Regions from separate parts of the Homo sapiens genome. Here regions 2 and 3 are each linked to region 1. The links are contacts of gene promoters, found by promoter capture Hi-C in blood cells and fetal thymus (Javierre and others, 2016). All regions are on one chromosome and are shown on one strand. Each heading gives the region's core, a stretch centred on a gene start or on the middle of the fragment in contact. The rest is flanking DNA. Distances are from core to core; before and after follow the strand shown. Region 1 holds the start of RAB2A (RAB2A, member RAS oncogene family). Region 2 holds the start of RPS20 (ribosomal protein S20). Region 3 overlaps BPNT2 (3'(2'), 5'-bisphosphate nucleotidase 2).

What was found. Contacts are between HindIII fragments. The CHiCAGO score rates a contact against its expected background, and 5 or more counts as called.
Region 2: a contact is called between the fragment with the promoter of RPS20 here and the fragment with the promoter of RAB2A in region 1, in 4 of 17 cell types (fetal thymus, activated CD4 T cells, naive CD4 T cells and 1 more). The highest score is 12.3, in fetal thymus.
Region 3: a fragment that was not itself captured here is called in contact with the fragment with the promoter of RAB2A in region 1 in 6 of 17 cell types (total CD8 T cells, naive CD8 T cells, activated CD4 T cells and 3 more); the score reaches 11.6 in total CD8 T cells.

The regions. Positions count from the first base shown.
Region 1 is chr8:60,515,002-60,518,794 of GRCh38, reverse strand. RAB2A (RAB2A, member RAS oncogene family) reads right to left here and starts at 1,808. Exons shown (of 8, transcript NM_002865.3): 1 at 1,542-1,808. The coding sequence starts at 1,587. It overlaps LOC124901949 (a long non-coding RNA gene), which reads right to left. Exons shown (of 3, transcript XR_007060922.1): 3 at 1,997-3,793. RefSeq lists enhancers at 375-564, 1,800-2,660 and a silencer at 1,355-2,224. The HindIII fragment of the contact is 4,226 bases long and covers 1-3,793 here.
Region 2 is chr8:56,072,311-56,076,103 of GRCh38, reverse strand. It overlaps RPS20 (ribosomal protein S20), which reads left to right and starts at 1,598. Exons shown (of 4, transcript NM_001023.4): 1 at 1,598-1,723; 2 at 1,945-2,044; 3 at 2,336-2,409; 4 at 2,832-3,050. The coding sequence starts at 1,721. The coding sequence ends at 3,014. SNORD54 (small nucleolar RNA, C/D box 54) reads left to right here and starts at 2,203; the gene lies at 2,203-2,265. It overlaps CERNA3 (competing endogenous lncRNA 3 for miR-645), which reads right to left and starts at 1,512. Exons shown (of 2, transcript NR_149110.1): 1 at 1,224-1,512; 2 at 830-1,097. The HindIII fragment of the contact is 15,741 bases long and covers 1-1,870 here.
Region 3 is chr8:56,988,924-56,992,716 of GRCh38, reverse strand. The region is part of intron 1 of BPNT2 (3'(2'), 5'-bisphosphate nucleotidase 2); the gene reads left to right. Among named protein-coding and RNA genes, the nearest start is that of BPNT2, 3.0 kb to the left of the region's middle. The HindIII fragment of the contact is 1,224 bases long and covers 1,368-2,591 here.

The DNA of each region.
Region 1 (3,793 bases), core at 559-3,058:
TGCCAGAAGACTTTAGAATTCTCCTTCTTCCAAATACACCACAGCATTTTTCTTTTAAAGTTTACAAATCCAATTTCCACACACACACACACGCACGCACGCATCAGAAAACCTTGCTGAAAACTCATGTATCTAGCAGAAATTTTTTCTTTCAGGCAGCAATAAATATGCTTTTTTTTTTTTTTTTTTTTTTTTTTTGCAAACTCCACCTTCCGGGCTCAAGTGATCCTCCCGCCTCAGCCTCCCAAGTGGCTGGGATTACAGGCGCCTGCCACGACGCCCGGCTAACTTTTGTACTTTTAGTAGAGACGGGGTTTCACCACGTTGGCCAAGCAGGTCTCGAACTCCTGATCTCAGGTGATCCCCCACCTCGGCCTCCGAAAGTGCTGGGATTACAGGTGTGAGCCACCGCGTCCGGCCAACATGCTTCTTTAGTTACTTATAGAACCTGCCACATCATTAGTTCAACTACAAACTGCTGCTTACATGACCGAAGTTGTGCAAAGGGTCCAAAGTTGTGCAAGAGTAACCACTGAAATCAGACTCTGGTATATTAATAGTTGCAACATCTAAACAATCTTTATGTTTATTATTAGATTCAAAGTAATGCCAAATCACAGGTATTAAAAATATCTACGAAGAGTCTGTTTACTTTTCTGTGAAATATACTAGGACGTCATTTTAAGTGAGAATAACTGAATTTCTTTCAGCTCATGGACATGAGCTCACCTGAAAATTAGCAGTTGTGACACCGGACTTGACATATCTAAAACATCAGCGTCCTCAACATACACATACCTAAGTACACACCCAGAGCACTGAACGACTTTACATTACTATATAACCCCAGTTCACACGTGGCAAAAGTCCACAGAACTCGTTCATGCTTTCCTAACCCCGAAAGGGATTCTCCAGCCGTCAAGTAATGAGATGTGACTTATTCTGACGTGAGAGTTGAAGGTGTTAAAAAAGCATATTTTATATATATGTATATATATAAAATACATATTTTAAAGGTTTCCTTTTCTCTTTCTCGGCTGCCTGTCCCACGCCAAAAAGCGCCTTGCCCAGGCCTTGATAGATGCGTGCTGGTGGAGGAAGGTTGGACTGGTCAGGAACCAAGACCCGGGCCCCAACACCTTCTGCTCCCCTAGGTTTCCCTCCTTCTTTTTCCTGGGGCCGCGAAGAGACCTAACGCAAGGGGCCCTGGGGGTGGGGTGCAGTCATGTGAGTCGGGCCCCGGCGGCCCTGCGCTAGGCCTCCCCTCCTGTCACACACTTCCTGAATCGGGCGTCGCAAACGGCTGCCACGGCCCTCAGCTGCAAGACTGGCCGGGTCGGGGGCCGCAGACCGGGCCTGGCCAGGCCGCGGCCGCTCGCAGTGCCCACGTCACCAGCTCCAGCACTGCGGAAATGGAGCGGCGCGGCCAGGAGGGAGGCGCCGGGTGGAGTCCGCGTCCCCGCCACCGCCAGACGCCGTTTGCCCCTCAGCCCGGGTCCGGAGGCCGCCGACACCCGCCCGGCCGCGCCCGGGGCCCTCACCTGTGTCGCCGATTATGATGTACTTGAAGAGATAGGCGTACGCCATGGCCGCGGCCGCTCAGTGCCAGGGCACACGGCTCCTCCTCCCGCTGCTGCTCCTCCTCCGCGCCCCAACCCCGGTGCCGCTCAGCCTCGAAACGCCAGGCGCCGCCCGCCGCCGCCGCTGCTGCTGTCAGCCGCCGGGAGTGAGGGGCTGTGAGGAAGCCGGACGAACTGACACCCGCAGAGCCGAGGGAGACAGCGCCCGACCGAGCCCAGCCGAACAATAACAGCCGCCGCGGCGCCTCCGCCCCGCCTCCGCGCCGACCCGGAAGTTCTGCGGCCGCCGGCGCCGCCGGAGGAAAGGGGAGGAGCCCCGCACGCTGGCCCAGCCCTGCACGCTGGCCGCGCCCCGCCAGCCGGAGCCCCGCCCCGCCCCGCCCCGCGCCTGCCTTGCCCGGTCCGCCCTGTCTTCCAGCAGGGCGGGGCCCGGCTCCGGTTGTTCCGCCACGTTTGAGCGGGCGAGCCCGGCGGCCGGGAGACGCCAGGGAACGGGGCTGGTGGGGGTACAAAGGCTCGGTTCCGTCGCCTTCAGCCCTGCGGTGGGGGCACGGGGCAAGTGAGGGGACGGCAGAGGCGGCGTTCGGTGTGAGGCTGCGCCCTGGGCTCCTGAAAATGTGTGTGAAAATGTGGGAGGCACACGGCGAGGGGGTGGGGGTGGCCTGGTATTTCTGTGTTTGGCATCGGGGCTTGAAGGTGAAAATGGCAGTATTTATAAATTGGAAACCGTAAATCTGGGACTGCAAAGTAAATCATGGTATGCACGCACAGTGGAGTACTACGTTGCTCTCACCTGAGGTCAGGAGTTCGAGACCAGCCTGGCCAACATGGCGAAACCGCGTCTCTACTAAAAATACATTAGCCGGGCGTGGTGGTGCTCGCCTGTAATCCCAGCTACTCGGAGTCTAAGGCAGGAGAATCACTTGAACCTGGGAGGTGGAGGTTGTAGTGAGCCGAGATTGAACCACGGCACTCCAGACTGGGCGACAGAGCGGGACTCCGTCTCAAAATAATAATAGTAAATAAAAAATAAATAAAGTCTCTGAACCTGTCCTGGTTCTGAGGGCTGCTCTAAAAAAAAAAAAAAAAAAAAAGCCTGACTTAGGTTAAGCAAAACCGAGATGATCTGTTTATGTGTGTGTATATAACATGCACCATATGTAATATATGAATTGTATATAATTTTTATGTGTAACAAATAGTGGGAAAACATTTACATACCCATATATGCATAATCAATCTGAAAGGAAAGCTAACTGGTATTAAGAGAAAGGAGGGAATGGGATTGGGGGGAAAATGTACTTTTCCCTGAATTTTTTTGTGCAGTTTGACATTTTTTGCAGTGTTCATGAGTTACCTATTAGGAAATACTGTTAAAGGAAAAAACAAAATGACTGTGCATTCAAAGAATAGTTATTGAATACTATGTTTCATGTACCGCCAGGCACAGCAACTGGAGGCCCTGTATGTTCTATGTTCTGTTTTTCTACTTTGCTTTTTCAGTCATCCAGCCCAAAATGTCACCACTCTGTTCAAAAAGACCACAGGTTATGGAAGAGGAGGTGGAGAATAGGGTGTCAGGAAAGGTTACTTAGAGATTATGATTTCTGAGCCAGGAATATGAATTATGTATAGAGTTTGTCGAAAGAACAACAGTTTGGGGAGGGGAACCAAAGTTTATGGACAAGGAACAGAATGTGCAAAATTCCTGGATCTGTTCAGGGAATTTGAAGTTGCATAAGGAAGCTAATTGACTAACTCATATCCTCATAACCCATAACCTCATATTGAAGGAGAATCATTGCTGGGGAAAAGCGATTGGGATTTAGTGGCCCTCGTTCCTGTTGCCTAATACTCTTCTCTTTGGGGCCTCTCATTATGTAATTAGTACTGACACCATCATGCTGGGTTGCTAACATGCTTTGGATGGCCTTGCCAAATATGAACTCACAAGGTTTTTCTGGAATATTTGGAGGGGATTTTACTAAAGGGTCAGAGATGGCACGGAAGAATTTGACATGAAAATTTGACATGAAAAGCTACCTGGAATCGCAAAATTTGGTTCATTCACCTTTAGTTTGAGGAAGGGGAGGTCCCTGCCCAAGGCCTCCAGTTTTCAGATGTCATTTTGTCCCTCCCACTTGAGTGCCTTCACCCAAGTCTTCCTTGGTGATGGAGAAACTCAAGTCTTCACTCTCACAAGATAGAGGGAT
Region 2 (3,793 bases), core at 349-2,848, 4.4 Mb after region 1:
GGCGACAGAGCGAGACTCCATCTCAAAAAACAAACAAACAAAAAACCCAAAAAACTGAACTGGAAAACATCCAAATTTGAAAATTTAAAATAATTGTTAAAATGGCAGCAAAAAACCTCATACGTATCGTGAGCCAAAGAAACCCAGTTATTAGTTATGTTCCAATTATCACCAAATAAGACAATGCTATTATTTGATTAAAGTTTCAAACATAATTTCCTACCAAGGAACAGAAGACAAAACCTCAAGAAAGAGTCCTGACGGGGCGAGCGCGGTGGCTCACGCCTGTAATCCCAGCACTTTGGGAGGCCGAGGCGGGCCTGAGATCTGGAGTTTGAGACCAGCATGATCAACATGGAGAAACCCCGTCTCTACTAAAAAAAAAAAAAAAAAAAAAAAAATTAGCCGGGCATGGTGGCGCATGCCTGTAATCCCAGCTACTCCGGAGGCTGAGGCAGGAGAATCGCTTGAACCCAGGAGGCGGAGTTTGCGGTGAGCCGAGATCGCGCCATGGCACTCCAGCCTGGGCAACAAGAATGAAACTCCGTCTCACAAAAAAAAAAAAACAAAACAAACAAAAAAAAAAAACAACAAACAGGCCTGGACGGAGGGGTCAGAGCTCTGTCCCTCCCCATTTCAGAGTGTTTGAGCAAATAACTCTTTCGGCTCAGAGCTTCAGGTGGAAAGTAATATGAGATGATTTTACTCTTCTTTCTGCCCTGTATCAAAATCCATCTCAGTGATTTCCACGTATTTAGCCCCGGCTTCTTGCTCAGGTGTAGGTGAGCTCACCCTGCGCTCTCTCCCACTGCTCAGCTCAGTTGACCATTCGGGTTTTCCACTATACTTGGTCACTTATGTGATTATGAACAGATGTTCAGTATTAAGAAGACCCTGGGGGATCTTATCCAATGACTTTATCCAACAGAAAGGAGATGAGGTATCAGGACTGGGTGGCTAGCCAGGTTCCAGGCCGGGCCTCAGGATAGCTGCGCAGCCTGGCATTTTCGCCTCACTTTCCAGAAGGACGAGAAGCCAAGTTCAGGTCCTTTCCAGAAATAGATGTAGATACTTCTGCTGGACTGGGAAGCCAGGAGCTGAAATATCACAACAGGACGTTTCAGGCTATGAAAAATAACTGCTTACTAATTCTAACGTAAGTTATCCAGATTACGAGAAGCATTTCTGCCAATGCTCATGTCAGCTAAGCTCAGAGAAGTTACCTCATCCTCAGAGAGCAACGAATGGTATGGTCTATGTAGAAAGCAAAATTTGCAACGGAAAAACCAGAGTTCGTGTGCACTTTATGAGGAAGAGGGTTAGGTGCACCAGACAGAGGAGTTTCTCAGGTTTCCGTGTCGCCTGTTCTCTCGACCAGGTGGCCCTCTCGGCGCAGGCGGGGACCCCACCCTGCGGGACTTCGGCTCCTCCGTGCGGACAGGGGGCGCCCGCAGCCGTGCCTTTCCCGCCAACTCCACTAGTGCTCCAGCTCGCCCTTGTGCGACCGCCTCTAGGGCCCGGGATATTTCCTGTTCCGGGGCGTGTGGGACCCGGATGCAAGCGTGCTATATAAGCGTTGCTCAAGTCCCACCCCTTTCTTTTTGAGGAAGACGCGGTCGTAAGGGCTGAGGATTTTTGGTCCGCACGCTCCTGCTCCTGACTCACCGCTGTTCGCTCTCGCCGAGGAACAAGTCGGTCAGGAAGCCCGCGCGCAACAGCCATGGTGAGGCGGCAGTCGGCGGCGGGCGGCGCAACGCAGGGCTCGGGCGCCGGGGGGACCCCGGTTTCGAGTTCGTGCTCCTGAGGGCAGATGCCGGGGCGTGTAGGGGCGGAAAGGCGCTCCTGAAATGGTGGGGAAACGCGGGAAGCTTCCGGAAGCTGCCTTTCTCCAGAAGTGGCAGACCATTTTTGGCTTATTGTTCTTTTTCATGTATCTAATAATAGGCTTTTAAGGATACCGGAAAAACACCCGTGGAGCCGGAGGTGGCAATTCACCGAATTCGAATCACCCTAACAAGCCGCAACGTAAAATCCTTGGAAAAGGGTCAGTGCATTCGTTATGCGGGGGGGAGGGGGAATTGGGCGAAAAGCGACGAGCTTTACTCGTTAATGTTAGTGTAGAAGGTGGACTGCAAGAACTAAAGTGACAAGTTACTTAAAAAAGTAAAGCGTGGCTTAAAATTGCTTTTACTGTCATACAGCTGGCGATGAGGAGGTACCTATTGTGTTGAGTAACGGTGATAATTTTATACGCTATTCTGAGCCAGCAGAAGTGAAGGCCTTAAGCCGATTTTAATTGTTTCGATTATACTGAGAGGTCTTTTATTTCCTGTAGTGTGTGCTGACTTGATAAGAGGCGCAAAAGAAAAGAATCTCAAAGTGAAAGGACCAGTTCGAATGCCTACCAAGGTAAAGTAAATCGGAGGGGCAGGAAGTAGGAGTTGCTTCCGGATGTTGCATAAATTCAGGTTCTTTAAGGAGTTCGGCTGCCAAAATTGTTAACACTGATGCTGTCTACAAACGCACATAGAAATCGGTGGTAGATTGCGGTTCCTAGTAAGTAGCTAATGTTTAGATATGATTGTTGAATTATTGTTGCTGTGTTCTTGGTGTGCTTTGGTGCTTAACAGGCGCAAGCTCTAAGGGTGGTGTCCTAGCACAGTGAAAACAGACCTGGCATTTTCAACCCATGGTACCTGAAAATCTATTAGTGTAAATTGGAATCATACCAAAGGGAAACTAATGAAATGATTAGAAGTAATGATTTTCCAGATGTTCTAGGGATAAGTATAAAACGATAAACACTTGGTTTCCTTTGTCTTTTGTTACAGACTTTGAGAATCACTACAAGAAAAACTCCTTGTGGTGAAGGTTCTAAGACGTGGGATCGTTTCCAGATGAGAATTCACAAGCGACTCATTGACTTGCACAGTCCTTCTGAGATTGTTAAGCAGATTACTTCCATCAGTATTGAGCCAGGAGTTGAGGTGGAAGTCACCATTGCAGATGCTTAAGTCAACTATTTTAATAAATTGATGACCAGTTGTTAACTTCTGTTGGTTTTTATTCAGAATACTGGCAGATTTTAGGAATATAAAGGTGTACTATGAGACTTCCACTTTTCAGGTGGAATATATGGGTATCTTAGAGTGGTCTATCCTGTTTTCGTTGTCGTTTGAGTCATTTGAAAACTGGATTCCGTTAACTACATAATATGTGAGACCTGACTGGTTTTATTGGACACTGGCAGTTTATAACTTTGGCATACTCTAGATAAATTCTGATTGGTATGGGGTGTTAAGGTTTCTGGGGCGTTTGTAATGCACACCCATGGTTGAGAACCTAGTGCGCTAGTAGGCACGTGTTAAAAAGCTAGTAACTAATATTTTTAAATTAACCAAGTTTAACGTCCTTAAAAAAGGATTAAGTGGCAGAGGCAGGACTAAAACTAAGTTTTAGGGTTTTAGGAACTAAAACTTAGTTTAAAAATACTTATATTTTCAGTGTTTTATATTTTAAATATAAAATTTTCACTTTTTTTTTTTGGGGGGGGGGACGGCGTTTTGCTCTGTGGCCCAGGCTGGAGTGCAGTGGTGTGTTCTTGGCTCACTGCAACCTCTGCCTCCCAGGTTCAAGCAATTCTCCTGCCTCAGCCTCCCAAGTAGTTGGGATTACAAGTGCCTGCGACCAAGCCTGGTTAATTTTTTATTTTATAGTAGAGATGGGGTTTTGTCCTGTTGTTCAGGCTGGTCTCAAACTCCTGACCTCAGGTGATCCACCTGCCTCAGCCTCC
Region 3 (3,793 bases), core at 730-3,229, 3.5 Mb after region 1:
TGCGCTCGCGGGAGTCGGGGTGGGGGGGTGGGGGATGAGTATGCTCATTTCGCTGTCTTTTTGTCAGGACGCTCTAAAGTTTATAGTTTGCGGGCCCTTTAAGGAGGTACTTAGAAATATACCAGCTGTTGGTCCTACCTGGCCCTTGATTAAAGATCCATATTTACTCCAGAGAATAAGAATTAAATAACATTTGGCTTTTCTTTGGGTAGGTTTCTGGGAAGGGAGTTGACATTTTCTTAAGGAAATCCAGACATTTTGGATTTGTTATTAATACTTTTTGAATTCATCATTTCACTGGAGCTGCTATTGAGTTGAATAAAGCATATTTAAAATTTGCAGTTCCAGAAACTGCAAATTTTGTTGAGGAAGAGCTCAGCATAGCGTAGCAGCACCTTATTAACGTATATCTTAACTCACCTAACTGTAGTTTTGGCTACTGGGAAGAAAAATTGTCTTCACTGGAATTTTATTAGATAAACAGTGATGTGCAAACCCAGGCTTCTTTGGAAGGTGACTGACCTTTTACTGCTGATCTTGAAAGAGTTAGGAGAATATTGTCATTGTTTAGTTATGTATTTTGCATAAGGCTTCTTCCAGTCTATCATAATATTGCTTTGGTTTTGTTTTTTATTCTCCTCTCTTCCTCCCTTTTCTTTCGTCTTTTTCTTTTTCCAGTGGAAAGGAACATTGTATTTCCTAACATGAGCTACTGGATACCAGATGTAATTAACGTTAGAATTTTTTTTTTCAAATTTCTACTTAAAACACAGAATATTTCCACTTTTTCTTCTTCCCTACTCTGTTTTTATCATCACAAATAATACTTAAATTTTTTTGCATCTAGATGTAAGGTGTGTTTATGAAATATTTTACCCCCTTTCCAAAACATACGTGTTTCCTTCCCCAAGAATTTATAGAGGAAACAGGAGATTCAGAGAAGTTGCTATTTAATGGTTATAACAGTACTAATAATAACCATTTATTGAATATATTTTACATGCCCAAATACTGGCTACACAGGACTTCATTTGATCCTTAACAGCAACTTTAAGAAGTAAATTTTATTTCTGCCTACTATACAAACGGGAAATCTGAGGCTCGTGACACTCCAGCTTATATGAACTATCCCACATTTTAGCTAGATTTTTAGAAGGCTATTTAAAACTTATAATTGTAGAAGCTTAAAAGCAGTAATAGTGAAATACAGCAAGCAGAGTTGATTTTTCTTTTTTTAAGTAAAAACAAAAGTATCTTAAATGTTGAAAACACATCTGTATGTGTGTGCATTCTCATTTATTAGCAAACAATAAGGGAATGGCTGCCAAGGGCAGTGAGCTGCATTTTATTAACATAAAAGCTAAGCTTTTGGAATTGCAGATGTTGAAGTCTCTGGCTTAATATAAAACAACTTCTTGTTTTCTTGTGACTATTTGAATGTTTGCATGTGCTTCTGTAGTATTCATGTTGGGTCATGACTGAAGGAATAGAAGAGGTTTGTGATCATTTATACAGTGTCAAAGTAGGGATGGTGTCATGTTGAGCGATCTCCTTATACCCCTGTGTTATAGGCTAGAGGCCAAATATTGTAGCCAACTAAGTGGAGAATCAACCTAAAAGGAGTCTTTCTCCTTTTTTGCCTTCCCCTCTCCTAATGCCCAGAAGTACAGTCTTAAATCCCTGGTTAATTTTGAAGCCTCACCCCAAATTTCTTGGTAAGAAACTTAAATTATATCCCACTTAGTTTACTTCCTAGTGGAAAAAGACCATTGAGAAGCAACAGATACTTCTTTCTTTTATCCTAGTGCCCTATGTAAATGTAGAAAGATCTGTTTTCTCCCACTACTTTCCTATGTAGAGTCTGAAGTCTGAGCTTTCGTATGTAATGTTCACTCCTCAGTAAAAGGATATACCAGGGGTTATCCTAGAGCACTCAACTGGAGACAGTTTTGTCCCCTAACTGACATTTGACAACGTCGGAAGACATTTTTGATTGTCACAACCAGGGGTGGGATGCTACTGGCATCTAGTAGGTAGAGGGTAAACATCCTATAATGCACAGGACAGCCCCCTATGACGAAGAATTATCTGCTCCATTTGTCAATTGATGCCCAAGTTGAGGAATCATACTCCAGAGAAGTGAGTGCTATCCTAACAAAACTCAGATTTCACCTAGGCTCCCTGGATTTCCTTTTGTCTTCAGTTTTCTTCAGGTTAGAGATCCCAGAGAGTCCTCTGGGCAGCTAGTCTCCTCTTCCTAAACACTTTGGCAATGCTTGACTTCATTGTGTCAAAGTAATAGTAACTCCAGCCATTTGTATGGCACTGTCTCTTTATCCTTGCAGGTAACAATGAAAATGAAGGCTGAAGATACTTTTGTGGAGTGGGTTTGCAGCCACAGAACAGACAAACTGAGATTTATAGTTTTGATTTAATGTACAGGGGACTGTCTGTTTGAGGGGCTCCTGTCCTCAACTTGATTTGTTCAAAGTTTTGACAATGACTTATTTGAAGGTAAAGCATGGTACTCCAAGCTGGTAGCAGCCACTTGGGTCTGTGCCTTCCTTGACCTATAAGATGGAAGTTAAGCTTCTCTCTTTCAACAGAAGTATGTCCCAGAAAAGTTTGAGAAGCACTAATATAGTGCACAGAGCACTTGCATTGACATGTTGTGCAGTCACCAGCCTAGGTGGTACTGGCCAGTCATTTAACTTTTTTGAGCCATAGTTTCCTCTTCTGTAAAATCAGAATAACTAGTAATTGGTGTAGACATAAGCACTGAAAACAGAGGAAAAGAATCTAGTTCAAAGGAACAGGCCCAAGAGAGATAGTAGGACAGCTAATTCTTGTAATCTAATGAGTTTGAGTAAAATGCACTTGGGAGAATTATTGTGGAAGAGATTGGAAAGGTAGGTAGGGGCTAGGTCATATTCCAAGCTCAAAGGAATTTGGACCTAGTCCATGGTTTACTAGTAGAATACTAAAAGAAGGCCAGATTTAGCTGACTTTTCTTGAGGCCTGCAATAAGCCATACTTTGGGCTTTGGGCATTTGGAGGTAGATAGGAACTAGTTAGAGACTGTTAAAACAGGCCATGGGAGAGATGAGGACCAGGACTCAAGCAGTGGGGAAGTTATGCTGAGCTTGTTTTACTAGCTAACATTTGCATAGCCTTCTGCAAGCCACAAAAATTGAATTAAACTTCTTAATGACATTATTAATTTTATCTTCACAACAACAAAGGAGGTTAAGTACTACAGCCTCTGTTTTTCAGATAAAGACTTGGAGAGGCTAAATAATTTGCCAAAGATTGTCCAGCTAGAATTTTTTTTTTTTTTTTTTTTTAAAGATGGTGTCTCGCTCTGTCGCCCAGGCTGGAGTGCAGTGGCACAATCTCAGCTCACTGCAAGCTCTGCCTCCCAGGTTCATGCCATTCTCCTGCCTCAGCCTCCCAAGTAGCTGGGACTACAGGTGCCGCCACCACGCCCAGCTAATTTTTTGTATTTTTAGTAGAGACGGGGTTTCACCATGAGAATAATCTTAGAGTCACTGAGATTGACATAATGGTCAGAGAATCATCTCAGGTCTGTCTAATTCTCTATATAAGGCGGTATAGCAGATGTAACAAGTATACTCTTAACTACAGTGTTAAAAATGAATGGAAGGACTCAGAGTAGTTGCTTGGAGGATGGTTTGGAGGGGAGCAAAGTAAATACAGGGAGACCAGTTAGGAGGCCCTTTTTCAGGTGAGAGCTTATATCTTTTGAATTAGGGTTATGGTTGTAGAGAAGATA